3 separate regions of the Homo sapiens genome follow, and all the other regions are linked to region 2. The links are contacts of gene promoters, found by promoter capture Hi-C in human tissues and cell types (Jung and others, 2019). All regions are on one chromosome and are shown on one strand. Each heading gives the region's core, a stretch centred on a gene start or on the middle of the fragment in contact. The rest is flanking DNA. Distances are from core to core; before and after follow the strand shown.

What was found. The method cuts DNA at HindIII sites, captures the fragments that hold promoters and counts their contacts. A contact is called where the count stands out against the background at its distance.
Region 1: the fragment with the promoter of ZNF814 here is called in contact with the fragment with the promoter of ZNF211 in region 2 in 4 of the 25 tissues and cell types used here (heart left ventricle, pancreas, small bowel and 1 more).
Region 3: a contact is called between a fragment that was not itself captured here and the fragment with the promoter of ZNF211 in region 2, in 6 of the 25 tissues and cell types used here (H1 embryonic stem cells, aorta, dorsolateral prefrontal cortex and 3 more).

What each region holds. Positions count from the first base shown.
Region 1 is chr19:57,887,317-57,890,552 of GRCh38, reverse strand. ZNF814 (zinc finger protein 814) reads left to right here and starts at 1,516. Exons shown (of 3, transcript NM_001144989.2): 1 at 1,516-1,786. The coding sequence starts at 1,751. RefSeq lists enhancers at 1,806-1,855, 1,529-2,071, 2,072-2,615, 2,640-3,236. The HindIII fragment of the contact is 24,676 bases long and covers 1-3,236 here.
Region 2 is chr19:57,631,577-57,634,571 of GRCh38, reverse strand. ZNF211 (zinc finger protein 211) reads right to left here and starts at 1,404. Exons shown (of 4, transcript NM_006385.5): 1 at 1,136-1,404; 2 at 511-549. The coding sequence starts at 1,225. RefSeq lists a silencer at 1,085-1,154 and enhancers at 1,595-1,644, 1,715-1,804. The HindIII fragment of the contact is 12,794 bases long and covers 397-2,995 here.
Region 3 is chr19:57,383,239-57,386,241 of GRCh38, reverse strand. No RefSeq gene overlaps it. Among named protein-coding and RNA genes, the nearest start is that of ZNF548, 5.1 kb to the left of the region's middle. The HindIII fragment of the contact is 6,124 bases long and covers 1-3,003 here.

The sequences.
Region 1 (3,236 bases), core at 267-2,766, 260 kb before region 2:
CAACTTTGACTCCCTATGATTTCATCTCCAACCCAACCAATCAGCATTCCCCAATTCATGGCCCCCTATCTACCAAATTATCCTTAAAAAACCCCAGTCTCAGGAGGCGGAGGTTGCAGTGAGCTGAGATCGTGACATTGCACTTCAGCCTGGGCAACAGGAGCAAAATTCTGTCTCAGAAAACAAACAAACAAATAAACAACAACAACAACAAAAAACCCCAGTCTCGCAATTTTCAGGGAGACTGATTTGAGTAATACTAGTAAGACTCCAGTATGCTGTTCATCCAACTCTGTGTGAATAAAACTCTTTTTCTTTTGCAATTTCCCTGTCCTGATAAATTGGCTTTATCTGGGCAGTAGGAAAAATGAACCCTCTGGGTGTTTACACGTTCATTTTAACAATACAATAATGGTTATTAATCTTTGCATTAATCTTTGCTTCCAGTGGAAGAATTTTGCATCTGAAGGACCATCTGAAATGATAGGTGAATTTGGATCTGTAGCCTTTGGGAACATCTACACTAACTCTGAAATAATATTTTTCCATACACTAGGGTAATCAGTTACAGCCAATAACCCCAAGAAATCTCAATGTGAGTTCTAAGGAGAGGCAGGATGATCCTCTGCCTAGGAGAAAGATCTGCAATCTTTTATTTATTTTTTTATTTTTATTTTTATTTTTTTTTCCAACATGGAGTCTTGCTGTGTCACCCAGGCTGGAGTGCAGTGGCAGGATCTCACTCACCGCAACCTCTGACTCCCATGTACAAGAGATTCTCCTGCCTCGGCCTCCCCAGTAGCTGGGATTACAGGCGCATGTCACCATGTGGGTTAATTTTTGTATTTTTAGTAGAGGCGGGGTTTCACCATGTTGGCCAGGCCAGTCTTGAACTCCTGACCTCAGGTGTTCCACCTGCCTCGGCCTCCCAAAGTGCTGGGATTACGGGCGTGAGCCGCCCGCACCTGGCCCTTATTTTTATTTTTTAGATAAGAGGTCTCGTTCTGTTGCCCAGGCTGGAATGCAGTGGTACGATCTCGGCTTACAGCAGCTTCGAACTCCTGAGCTCAAGCGATTCTCCCTCCTCAGGCTCCCTAACCCTAACCCCAACCTTAGGGCAGCTGGGACCACAGGCCCGCCCGACCACACTCCGCTAATATTTTTTATTTTTTGTAGAGACAGGATTTTGCTTTGTTGCTCAGGCTAATTTCTAACTCCTGACCTCAAATGATCCTTGTGACTTGGCCTCCCAAACTGGTGGAATTACAGGCGGGAGCCACCATACCAGTCAGGACGCACATCTTAAGGATACTCCCGAGGTGAAGCTGGGCTTTTCCTGCAGAAGCGCCTCTGGGAATTGCGCCCTTTACCCTCCTTGTTGCCTAGGGAACTACATTACCCAGAAAACTCAGCCTCGAATGATAGCGTAGAAGACCTCTGAGGGCTCAGAATAAAGGCGTTTCCTGTGTGCACGTGACAATGGGTCCGGACTTCCGGCGCCCTCTGGTGGCGGCCATTTTGATTGGTGTTGGATTTATTTGTAGGAGAGGCTCCTGAGCGCTAGGTCCGCACTGTGGTGACTGAACCCAGAAGTCGGGGAGCAGTTGTCCTCCGCTGCACAGAGGCTACTCTGGAGCTCTGTGACGGCGCCCAGCGTGACCCACTCCTGGGCCAGGATACGGACCGTCGTGCCCATATCTCCTGGCTGGTCGCCCTATCCTCCCGACTCTGCTTAAAACCACGTGGTTCGATGGCTGCCGCGGCTACGCTGAGGCTCTCCGCTCAGGTAATTGTGGGGCCTTCTGTGTCCTCAGGTCACCTCATCGTCACCCAAAAGCAGCGAGGTAGCAGCGCCTGTTCACGGCTCTGCAGCCCGGACGCCGGCGTTGGGACACTGAGGCGCTTGCGGGAGGGGCCCCATTTCTGACACCCGTGGGATGCGGTGGGGAGACCGGCAGGTACAGGGACTGGCGCGGGCAAAGGCCTGGAAGTGAACTGAGCCAGAAGGATGGAATCTGGGGTCCACAGGTGCCTGTTGGGAGCAAATTATGAGGCGGAGCTCCTCCTGGAAGAGCAAGCAGGCTGGGGGCTATGAACTCACGTGAGGACCCTAGAAGGCATGGAGATTTTCGAAGAAAGGAGGGATGTCATGAGCATTGTAAGGGTAGAGATAATCAGGTCCATGCATGTTTGTGTCTTTGCACAGTGTCAGGTGATATTTGAGTCAACAAAAGCCATGAGCTAAATGGAGTTCGAAGGAGGCAATTCTCTTGTGATTCCAGTTCACTTGGTAGTTGGCCATGGGCACAGAGGCTGAAGACACTCCCCAAGTCAGTCAATATAGCAAACAATACACAATAGTATACTTAACATGTAAATGTTAAAGGTTAAACATAACACTGTTGTACCCGGGCGAGTTAGAAAAACGCCACACTTTGAGACGAATTAAGAGTCCTTTATTCAGCTGGCGGCCAAAGAGACGGCTAACGCTCAAAATTCTCTCGGCCCCGAGGAAGGGGCTTGATTAACTTTTATACTTTGGTTTAGGAAGGGGAGGGGAGCTTAAATGCAACAACTCTTCAGAAGTAAAAACATGCAAAAAATTAAAAGGATAAATGGTTACAGAGAAACAAACAATTTAAAAGACAAATGGTTACAAAAAGGCAAGGTACCAGGTGTGGCGCTCTAAATCCTTCATAAGAGTTAGATATGGGCACTACGCCAGACACAAACTCAAGGCTTTATGGTGTTATCTTTTGAGCAAAATCCTGGGAACTTCATACATGGTTTGTTCCCAGTCCCTTATCAGTTAATTGGACTCCTTTGATATGTTGAGAATCTGCTTACACAAGTTAACTCCTTGAGGAAAGGGGGGTGGGTAAGGAGTCCTTAATGTCTTGTAAATCAAGGGGGCCAGGTGGAGCTCGTCTGGCTTTCTCAGCTAAGCGAGAGTCTATTCATGTGGAAACGAGGCTAGGTGATTAAGAGAGCAAAAGGGAGAGTCTAAAAACAGGATTAGTGAAAACAAGGTTGGGCATTACAACACAAGGAACAAAATAATGCTTAGCATCAAGAGGAAAAAGATATAGGAGCAAACGTTATGGAACCAGTTTAGAGGGAGCAAGGAAGACAAAAGGCATCTTGGTCTGGGCCAGTTGGTGGGCAATTGGCCTGCAGTCTTACAAGGAAGAGTCTTTGAGGTGGCAGAGCCTTAGGCAGCAGATGCTGAGTTTTGA
Region 2 (2,995 bases), core at 155-2,654:
CCATGTCCCCATACATTCTCCTCCCAAGATCCCCAAGTCAGAAGAGACACCAGACCTTGGTGTCATTGATCCCTGCTGTCTCTTCACATTCCCATTAGTCACTGTGTTCATTCTGTTTTCCACTCTGTATCCTGTCAACACTTGGGTTAGATAAATCTCCCTCCTCTGATCCCAAACTCCAACTTCCTCACAATAGATGCCAAACTTCACAGAAATAAAGGAAACCTGCAGTTCCCTGAACCAGCTCAGCCTCACCTCCAAGGAGTTCCAAAAGCTGGTACCTACCTGTTTCTATCATAAATTTTCACCCATCTTTCCATTGGCTGCTCCAAATGGAAACATTGGCCTGGACTCAGGGCCCTTAGCTCAGGGATTCTCCAGGGTTCCCAAACCAAACGCTGAGAGAATGGTAGGTGAGTCCCATGACACCACAAATCTAAAGAAAATATCTGTCTGGGGAGGGTGGAGGGACATTCCAGACCAGTGAGGGGCTGAGATACCTCCACTTACCTGTGTAAGTTTGAAAAGCACCTCTGTAGCTATGGGAACCTGTGGAAAGACGCAGGCCTCAGAGGAATGTGATCATGGCAGTGCTCCATGGGCACAGGCCTTCCCTGTACCCTTGCCCCGGCCCAGAGCCACGTAACTTTGGGTCGACTGTCTAACCTGTGCGCCTCGGTCCTTAGTGCTGCCTCTCACCAGTTGTGTGGCCTTGGAAAAATATTCAACCTCCCTCTGCCTCAACGTCCTCATCCATCTCTAAAGTCTTTTCTTCCACTGAACAGCCTGCAGAGGATTTTTCAAATTTAACTCAGATGGTGTCTCTCGTTTGCGCAAGCTCTCTATGGCTCCCACGGCCCTAAGAATAAAGGTAGATCTCTCTCAAACTTTGTTCCCTGCAGTAACAATGTGGAGCCCAGGTTCCTGAATGCCCCCTTCTCGGTTGCCCGTCCAAGCCCTGCACGCGCCGGTCCTGTCCCTTGTCCCCCTGCCCACCACATCGGATGTCAGAAATAGGGGCCCCACCCACGAGCCTCAGTGTCCCCGACCCTGTGCTACAGAGACGTGAGCTGGTGCCTCTCACTTGGGACTTAAGAATCTCGGCCGGGGGAGGCCCGGAGATCGCAGCGCTCACCGAAGCCGGGTCCCTCAGTGCGGTCGCCATCCGAGTCTGTGGGCGGAGCTGGACCGGGAGCTGCGGGCGACCCGGGGGGAACCCGAGCATCGCTATCCCCAGGCCGGCCTCGCGGGCGGCTCTGCCCCCGACCCTCAGACCTGACTCTCGCGCCTTCACGGTCCGTCACTTCGATCCCGATGCAGCGTACCAAAGCGGCTGACAGACAGAACGGACCTCCGGGAGGGCAGCCAAAATGACCGCTGCGAAGACGCCACAAGTCCCGCCCTGGGGGGGGCGGGGGTAGACCCACACGGAAATGCCCCTGTCTTGGATTTTCATTGGATCAAAGTACTGCCGCTCGACGCAAGGCTTTCTGGGTAATGTAGTCTCCCCCAGGCTGCGACGGAGGGCGCCTTGTGTGCAGACAGCTGGGAGCGCTAGGAAGCTGCGTCTGCTGCCTTCCAGGGCGACTGAGGGGCTTCGGTGTTTGAGGTCTTAAGTAGGTTGACACTTGAACAACACAGGTTTGAGCTGTGCGGGTCCATTTACACGTAGGCGTTTTTTTTCCCCAATAAACGTTACTTCGAGTGTGCTCCTTTTCCTGCCTCTTCCAGCTCCCCGACCTCTTGCCCCAGAGACAGCAAGACCTCATTCTCTTGCCCAGCATGAAGAACACAAGGATGAAGACCTTTATGATGATCCACTTCCACTTAATGATTAGTAAATGTATTTTCCCTTCCGTATTCTTTTATTTTCCTTTTTTTAATTGGGTGTAATGTCAACGAGCCTCTTACAATTTTCCTGATACCCTTTCTCTGGTCTGTTTTAGTACAAGTATAGTTCTTATACTAAAATATATATAATGCATATATCATACAAAATGCATATATCATATATATTATGCATATATCATGCATATATCATACAAAATGTGTTAATCGACTGGGAGTTTATGTAATTCATAAGGCTTCCGGGCAACTTCATAAGGCTTCCGGGCAACAGTTGGCTATTAGTAGTTAAGACCTAGGGGAGTCAAAAGTAATACAAGCATTTTCAATTCCGCAGGGGTCGGTATCCCTGACCCCTGCGTCGTTTAAGGGTCAGCTGTATATCAGTCTCTAGTGTAGAGGTTCACTTCAGTATTTAGACATCATTTCAGATTCCATGCAGCCCACCCCAGCAGATCTCCACTGGTAGTGGGAAGCGAAAAAACGTTATCTTATTGCTCTTCAAATGCATGCAGCCTGAAGTGTTAAAGTCACTTTTTGTAGGTTTTGTCAGGGACAAAAGACACCAGACAGGGCTACAATGGGAAGATAGTGGAGGGATAGTGGGCAGCCCTGAAGCCAACGGACAAGGGAAGTTCCCTGCTTCTGGTGCCCCCAGAAAACGCTCTCCTGCCTGCAAAGTCAGTTTTGTTCATAAAACATGAAGCTTTAATACATGAATGTTCATTTTCCTTGTATAATCAAAACATTTAATTTTTTTTTGAGACAGGGTCTCACTCTGTTGTCCAGGCTGGAGTACAGTGGAACAATCATAGCTCATTGCAGCCTCCACTTCCTGGGCTCAAGTGATCCTCCCACCTCAGCCTCTTGAGTAGCTGGCACTACAAGCACACCACCACACCCGGCTAGTTAAAAAAAAAATTATTGTAGGAATGGAGTCTCCCTATAGGGCCCAGGCTAGTCTCAAACTCCTAGGGCCATGCAATCTTCTTGCCTCAGCCTCCCAAACTGCTGAGATTACAAGCATGAGTCACCATGCCCAGACAAAAGTTTTTAATGCATAAAATATCAAATTATTATCATTATTTTAAACAGGGCCTCACTCCGTCGCCCAGAAAGTTTATATTATTTTAAGGTACATATATGCACA
Region 3 (3,003 bases), core at 14-2,513, 250 kb after region 2:
GGAGTGCAGTGGTGTGATCTCGGCTCACTGCAACCTCCGCCTCTCCGGTTCAAGTGATTCTCCTGCCTCAGACTCTCAAGTAGCTGGAACTACATATGCACGCCACCACGCCCAGTTAATTTTTTTGTATTTTTAGTAGAGACGGGATTTCACCATGTTGGCCAGGATGGTCTCGATCTCTTGACCTCATGATCCGCCTGCCTCGGCCTCCCAAAGTGCTGGGATTACAGGCATGAGCCACCACGCCTGGCCCCATTTATTCTTAATTGAATATAAATTATTACTTATATTTTAATTATATGAATATAATTTAAAAGTTTGCAAGCTTTCAATGGTTCCATCTGTTTGTAATTAGTTATGAGTTTGGATATGAAATGGTAGACTAACTGACCCAGACATACATTGTAAAATCCAACGTTTTCTCCAGTGTTTTCTTTTTTCTTTCTTTTCTTTTTTTTTTTTAAGATACAGTTTCACTCTGTCACCCAGCTGGAGTGCAGTGGCGCAATCTCGGCTCACTGCAACCTCTGGCTCCCAGGTTCAAGTGATTCTCATGCCTCAGCCTCCCAAGTAGCTGGGATTACAGGCGCGTGGCACCATGCCTGGCTAATTTTTTGTATTTCTATTAGAGATGGGGTTTCGCCATGTTGGCCATACTGGTCTCGAACTCCTGACCTCAAGTGATCTGTCCGCCTAGGCCTCCCAAAGTGCTGCGATTACAGGCATGAGCCACTGTACCCACAATGTTTTTCAACTCTTGTAGAAGTTGCTATTGTCTATATTTTGAGTATATTGAATGCAAAAAATGTCAAAATGCAAGTTTATAATTTATGATGAACTGAGGAGTATTTAAAATTCCCTTTGAAGGTCTTCGACTCTATGTAATTGCCCATTGACTAATGAAAATGGTGGACAGTCAAATATATATTAACTTTGGAAGGTGCATGATTTTCTCAACTAGTTCCAAAGAAAGAGACAAAATAACTTTTTTGTTAAAATCAGATGGAGATGGTAGAATAATTATAATAGAGTTTGTAATGTTTTCTACACTGTTTATCATCATGAGTCTTTAGGCTCAGAATGCTACTGTTGAGTGTGTTTCTCATTAATGAATGTCCAATAGATAAAGGAATGAAATAAGTTGAATATGACAAATGACGAAGGTTTGTCACAACATAAATGGCATCAAGACTGTAACTGCAGGAATTCTGTAAGCAAATTATATAAAACAAGGAATTGTTAAGTAGAAGCAAATTATCAGGGAAAGAGTTATGTCATTAGAACTGTGATCCCCAAGCTTTTTAGTACCAGGGACCGGTTTTGTGGAAGACAATTTTTCCATGGATAAGGGAGAGGGGTTTGGGGGCAGATGGTTTCAGAGGCATTAGATTCTCATAAGGAGCATACAACCTAGATCCCTCTCTTGTGCAGTTCACAGTAGGGTTTGCACCCCTATGAGAATCTAATGCTGCTGCCGATCTGACAGGAGGCGGAGATCAGGCAGCAATGCTCACTCATCTGCCACTCACCCTCTGCTATATGGCCCCATTCCTAACAGGCCATAGTACTCATCTGTGGCCCCAGGGGTTGGGGACCCCTGATTTAGAATGTATTTCAGATAAACAACAAATAATTTTATGATGAGTATGTCACATACAATATTTATCTTTTATCTCACTGCACATATACATAGGGAATTAGAAATAATTCAAATTTAACCAGGTCAAGTATCAGTTACAAAATTTGACAATTCTTTTCATCGTAATTTTTTTCTGAACCTATGCATTATATTGAGCATCCTCATTTTTGAACCTAGTAACTCATTCACAGAATTTCTGCTACCCTTCTTCTTTTTTCTTTTTTTCTTTTTTTTTTTTTGAGACAGAATCTTGCTCTGTCACCCAGGCTGGAGTGCATTGGCGCGATCTCAGCTCACTGCAACCTCTGCCTCCCGGCTTCAAGCGATTCTTCTGCCTCAGCCTCCTGAATAGCTGAGATTATAGGCGCCCGCCACCATGCCCGGCTAATTTTTTTTTTTGCCCTGTCGCCCAGGCTGGAGTGCAATGGCATGATCTCAGCCCACTGCAACCCCCTCTTCCCGGGTTAAAGCAATTCTCCTGCCTCAGCCTCCCGAGTAGCTGTGATTACAGGCACGCACCACCACGCACAGCTAATTTTTTGTATCTTTAGTAGAGATAGGGTTTCACCATGTTGGCCAGGCTGGTCTCGAACTCCTGACCTTATGATCTGCCTGCCTCGGCCTCCCAAAGTGCTGGGATTACAGGCTTGAGCCACTGTGTCTGGCCACTTCTTCTTAATTGTAAATTCTGCTGGTTGGGGGCCCTTTGTTCCAAGGAAGGAGAGGTTCCACCAGAAGTAAATATTATTACATTTAATTGAAGGGTGATACAGCTACTTGTTCATCTGGGGATCCTTGTGTCACTTAAGCAAGAAGGGATTGCTTTTTTGCTTTGGATGAGTTAGGCTGAGTTGCTGCCATGGAATGGGAAGCATAGAGAGTTATGTCTGAGACCAGGGGATTTCTGGGGGATGTTTTGGTAAGTTCATGTTCAGAAATAAAACTAGCAACTCATCGAAGGGAGGACTTCTAAGAATCAGAAGTTTAGGTTTTGATATTTGGGGACATCCTCCAGGTTAAAAAACAAACAAAACCAAAATGCTACCCAGCTGAAGATCCGGCAGAGGCAGAAGAATGGGATGGTGGGGGGAGGGGGGAGCGGGGAGGAGAATGAAAAATCAATTTTCAACCTAAGACCAGTTAAGAAAACAAGAAATCTCAATATTATAGCTATCTTCCTTGTTTACATGTAAGAAATTGACTATAGAAATCAACAATGGCCAAGCCAAATATAAAACAGAACTCTAACCCACTACTGCACTGACCAGCTCAGGAAGCCAACCTGCTATCTACACTAACCAGATGAGGAAATCTCTCTCCCTCTCTCTCTCTCTCTCTCTCTCTCTCTCACTCAAGAGTTTTAA